2 separate regions of the Homo sapiens genome follow, and region 2 is linked to region 1. Evidence: promoter capture Hi-C in human tissues and cell types (Jung and others, 2019). All regions are on one chromosome and are shown on one strand. Each heading gives the region's core, a stretch centred on a gene start or on the middle of the fragment in contact. The rest is flanking DNA. Distances are from core to core; before and after follow the strand shown.

Region 1 (2,700 bases), core at 160-2,659:
TTCCTCCAATAAACCATACATACTCCCAGCGTTAGTACCATTGCACTGGCAGTTCCCTCTTCATGGAAAGCAATTTCTCCAGTTTTCCGCATGGCCATTTCCCTCATTTTCCTGAAGTCTTTGCTCAAATGTCACCATCTCAGTAACTTGTGCATCATATTTAAGATTACAGCCCTACCAGCTACTCCCACCCGCACCACATACATTGTTCTCCCCTCCCCGCAGCATCTTCTAACATTTGCTTATTACATCTAGTGTTTGACCTCCTTTCTCCACCACCAGCATAATGTAAGCCCCAAGAACACGGGAAAATGCCTGTCACATAGAGCTCAACAAATATTTGTTGAATGTAGAATGGATGAACTCGCTTGCCAGCTTGTCATTTCTGGAGACATGGCCACAAATTCCCAAGAAAAAAAAAAGGATGCATTTTAAAGAGGCTAGGGAGGACAATGACAGCAAAGACTGCAAAGAGTTTTAAAACAGGAGAAAAAGAAGATGGGATACAATAACCACAAATTTCAATACTGAAGGCATTGTGGGCCTGAAAATAACGCTCTTGGGAAAAGTGGCAGTCGGGGAATTAATTATAAAGGTAGACACGGCGGATCTAAGTGCCTGGCCATGGACACTGGCATGCGCTCCCTCACCCAAACCCACTTCCCGCTCAGCTCTTTCCGGAGCCTTCCACCCTAACACAGAAAGTTCACACCAAGAGACTGAACGATTTCTAAACTTTATGGAAAAAGCCAATGACAATCAATTAGCCAAAAACGAGACGCCAAATCCCATCTCACTCCAGCGCCATGCCCTCTTCTCAAACGCTCGCCGGCTCTAGGACCTCTCCACCAGCACAGTTCTCAGGAGTCCTGCTGGTCTCCCAGTGCTGTTCTAAGGGTCCACATGAAGGCAGGTCAGGCGGGACTCCCCGGGCAAGCACTTCTGTACGCGGAAAGCACGAGGCGCAGGAGCCATGGAGAGCCGGTCCTTTGGAGACAGGAATACTTAAGAGGATTGGCAAACCGGAGAAACGCTGGGAGAGGTGCCCCGCACTGCGGTGGTAAGGCAGAGTCTCAGTTCTCCTCGGGCTTGTCGGCTGGCGGTCCACAAGGCTGAAGCATCTTTTCCATCAAGTTGAAGCGGACTCGCGCTTTGCTCTCATTCTCCGCAATGGCGAAGTAGTTGAGAAGGTCGAAGTGGCCCATGTAGGAGCAGTACGAGTCGCGGTGTTGGTTCACCAGCCACTCCCACTTGGTGGTGTCGGCGTGGCCCGTGCCGATGTACTTGGACTGCAGGTGCTCCAGCTGGCTATGGATGGTGTAGCGGTCAGTCATCTCGCCGCTTTCCCCTTCGCTCTCAGGTCAGAGGACGCAGGTAACAACTCGCCGCTCTAGCGTTTTACAGGAGAGTGAAGCCACCGCGCGGAAGCTCCAGGTCCGCGCCGTCGCAGAAGAATGGCGTCACAACGACTAAGTAGCGTAACTCTCGCTCATAGGGCTCAGAGGCGGAAGCGGAAGCACATTCTGTCACGCAATTGGAGTTGCTGAGGCGACGCAACAAGTGTGCCTCCCCCCTCCATGGAGATCCCCGCCCCATCAGAGAATGTTGCATGATGGTCCACTTAGTGGCTAAGGGAGGCCCTTTTCCAACAAGGAGCGTTGCATGCTGGGACTTGTGGTCTTGGGAGTTCGTGCACGCAGGCTTCCGGGACTCCTGGTCGCGTTCTGTTGTTTGTTTGTTTGTTTGTTTAAGACGGAGTCTTGCACTGTTGCCCGGGCTGCAATGCAATGGCGCGATCTCGGCTCACTGCAACCTCCGCCTCCTGGGTTCACGCGATTCTCCTGCTTCAGCCTCCCGAGTAGCTGGGATGACAGTTGCACACCACCACGCCCGGCTAGTTTTTTTGTATTTTTAGTAAAGACGGGGTTTCACTGGTCTCGAACCCCTGACCTCGTGATCCGCCCGCCTCGGACTCCCAAAGTGCTGGGATTACAGGCGTGAGCCACCGCGCCCGGCCCCTGGTCGCGTTTTAAAAGTGATCTGGGGACCTAGTGGAGGGCGATGTCTGGAGGTGGGGAGCATCCGTGGGTGGCTTGGGGCTGATAGGAAATGGGAAACCCAAGAATGACTGGACTACGAGCAGCCCCGAAAATAAACTCTTGGTGTATTTCGGAGCCGTCGTGGCGGCACGGCCGTCCCTTCACAACCGGGGATGGATTACCCAGAAGTCAGCAGGCGCCAGTTCTGGTCCCAACTATGTCTCTTAGGAGTTTGTGGCATAAAAGAGTTATTTCAGCTCTAACCAGGGTGCTTGGTGAGCAAGTACAGCACCAGTTCCCACACATTCCGGCTTCCACCTCAAGCTCCTCCTTCCTCTCTAGCCACTTATTTTGATATCCTCCCTCCAAGGCCTCACCTCACCCTACTTGGCTCTTCCATTCAGTGGGTTTTGTGGATTCAACCAACCTGATTGAAAATATTGGGGGAAAATATCAGTCTGTACCGAAATGCAGACTTTTTAAGGTTATTATTCCCTAAACAATACAGTATAACAACTATTTACATAGCATTTACATTGTATTAGGTATGTTAAATAATCTAGAGACAAACTATACAGGAGGATGTGCGTATATGCAAATACAAGCCGTTTTATATCAGGGACTTGAGCATCCTCTAGTTTTGGTATCCATGGGGGTCCTG
Region 2 (2,876 bases), core at 158-2,657, 120 kb after region 1:
TCCCTTTTTTTTCCCCCGCCAATGTTAATTTTGTGCACACAACTCTTCTATTAACTCCTAGAAGGCGGAGACTGTATCATCCTAGATGTAAAATGCACTCCAACTTGGGTTCGGCTTAGAATTTTTAAATACAGCGTGGTCAAGTTTTTTTTTTCTTCTTCTCCCTTTAAAATTGTTTGTTTAATGAGAGCCATCTAAGAATTTTTAAAAGTTGCAAGTACACTGCAAATAACTTTTTTTCCTCTCTTGAATCATTTAAAAGTAAAATACCTAGTGGATGCCCAAGTACTACTATTAAAATCAGGAAATTAACATTGATGATTTAATACCATCTAATCCTCGGTGCGCAATCGGTCACCAGTTGTCGCAAGAATGTTCTTTATAGCAAAAGGCTCCTCTTCAGAATGATGCGTTGCATTTACTTGTCCTGTCTCCTTCGGCTTCTTCCGTGTGGATCAGCTCCTCAGCCTCTGCTGACTTTCATGATCTTGACACTTCTGCTGACAAGCCAGCCGGTTTGTAGAATGTCCCTTTGTCAGTCTAGGTTTTCTGGTGTTTCCTCCTGATGAGATCCAGGCTCTGTTTATTTAGCAGGACTTCCACAGAAGCCATGCAGTGTTCTCACGGCAGCCTCTCAGGTCGCATGATTTCCGTGTGGCCTGCTTCTCTGCCAGGCTTCTCCTCTGTAAAGTTACTGTTTTCCCTTTGTGATTAGTACCTGTTTTAGAGGGAAGTGCTTTGAAGCTGTGTAATATCCGGTGCCTTATCAAATTTTCATTTTATTCAATTATTTATGGAATTATAAGTTATGTACGTATGTATCCATGGTGCCCTATTTTAATTAATGGTTACAATCCATTCATTCATTTTGATGCTCAGAGTGTCTCAGATTGGGCCAGTGACAGCCCATTCAAGCTGACTTTTGACCTGTCTGCATTATTCTTTAGCACTTCCTTACTTCCTACTCCAAGATGGTCCAGATTTACCTTGTGCTTTCCTGACCCAGTACTAGAATCAGCCATTTTCTAAAGATCCTTGGTTCCTTTTAGTGGAGAATGGTATCTAGAAACCAAGGTCTCAGTGCTAGGTGTGCTCATTGCTTTTGAGGTGTTGCTACTTCCAGGCCCTCTGGGTAGACAGAATTAAGGAGTGTGTGTGTGTGCATATTTATCTATTTGTATATCTATATAAATATATATCTATATTTATTCATATATCTTTATGTATATCAAGGAGTTTATATATACCTCCAATTCTGATCCAACACTATAGACTTTGTTCTATTTTGTCTCCCTGTCCATGTTTGTAACTCCCTGAATTCCTGCCTCCCCAGTGCAGATCTATACATTGCTTAAGCTCATGTAATGGCTTTAGAATTGAATTGTTCAAAAAGGAAAGAGAAAAAGAGTGTCTACATATTTTGGAAATAAACATCCTGCCAGCAACTGAGAACAGGCTCTGAGCCACTCACTATTAGATACTTGGGATGTGCAGATAAATAACCCGGCCTCTGTCTCAGTGAGCTCAGATAGCAAGAGACAGAGATTTTAATAAGCCACATTTGTAATGAAAAAATATGAATTATGCCCAAGGTGCTAAAGGAGTGGTTTGGGAAGGCCTGACTCTTCCTCAGAGAGCCAGCTTTAGTTGAGAGGTGAAAGAAGAGAAGCAGGGATGAGGGAGGGGCAAGAGGGAGAGGGAGACAGATACAGGTGGGGTAAGCCACGTGGGAGCCATCTGGGGGCCCTGTGAAGTATGATGCCCAGGATGCCCTGAAGGATTTGCAACAGAAGGAACCTGACAAGTGTTACATTTGGAAGTATCTGTGTCTACCGATGTAGAGAATCTTGGTCTGTCTTTATAGGCTTGGGATGGGGGGCATGTTGAATTGGTAGAAAATATTTTGGGGGAAAAATTGTTTAATTCTGTTAATAGCCAGTTAGACTGAGCTCAGTCTTTCTCTTCCTCCTTAAAAGCCCAGGATTTTTTCCTTGAAAAGCAGATTTGTTATATTAGATTCTTTATATATTTTCAAAAGTTCTTAAAACATAGCGAATATATTGAAGTTAAATTTGAATCGTTAACTTAGTTTGAATTAAATTTACATTAGTTTAAATTAAATTTGAATCATTAAATTTGTATACTGCCACTAAACTTATAATGATTTTCTAATAATTATTTTAACAAAAAGAACTTAAGTCAATCCTTTGAATTAAAAATTAACAGTGTGGCTTTATAAACATTCTCTGTGGGTTTGAACTAGTTGTAAGTTATTCAAAATTGTTTATTTTCTATTGGGCTTTTACATAGATCTCTGTAGGAAAAGCTGCTACCAATGTATTTACGCAGTGACACCTACTGGTTAAGTTGAGGCAAATTTTTTGTTAAATTCTGTCTGCCTTGTTCTGACTATAGAATTCTGATAATTTGCTCCACAGTTACTGTGTTTGGAAGCAGATTCAGGCTATATCTATGTCAGCCAGTAAATTGACTTTCTTTTTTCTCTTGTAATCATTAATGATAAACCTGCCATTGAAAATAATCCTGAATCACTGATACAACTTGCACGAGACATTATTTTCATTGTATCAATAGAAGCTTTATTGCACTGCATCTTCTTTGTTTGTTTCAGTTCATTTTCCAATTCCAAATCTGGCTATGAAGTTGAAGGATAATAGATATCTGGATTAGCCATCAGCTTTAAAACACAGAAGTCATGTCCAATTTGAGAGATCCTGAACAAGTAGCGTTCTTGGTCCTCAGTAGGAAGTTGGAATTTGGAAGCCTTAATTATTTTGCTTGTTTTTCATTTTACTTTCAAATACAATTGCAGCTAGCTAAAGAACAAATTCAATATATGCTATGAATCTCACCCA

What was found. Contacts are between HindIII fragments. The study calls those that stand out against the background at their distance.
Region 2: a fragment that was not itself captured here is called in contact with the fragment with the promoter of SF3B5 in region 1 in 2 of the 25 tissues and cell types used here (hippocampus and spleen).

What each region holds. Positions count from the first base shown.
Region 1 is chr6:144,094,164-144,096,863 of GRCh38, forward strand. SF3B5 (splicing factor 3b subunit 5) reads right to left here and starts at 1,410. Exons shown (of 1, transcript NM_031287.3): 1 at 721-1,410. The coding sequence starts at 1,334. The coding sequence ends at 1,074. RefSeq lists an enhancer at 1,160-1,859. The HindIII fragment of the contact is 26,090 bases long and covers 1-2,700 here.
Region 2 is chr6:144,216,931-144,219,806 of GRCh38, forward strand. No RefSeq gene overlaps it. Among named protein-coding and RNA genes, the nearest start is that of TRL-TAA1-1, 1.8 kb to the left of the region's middle. The HindIII fragment of the contact is 9,184 bases long and covers 1-2,876 here.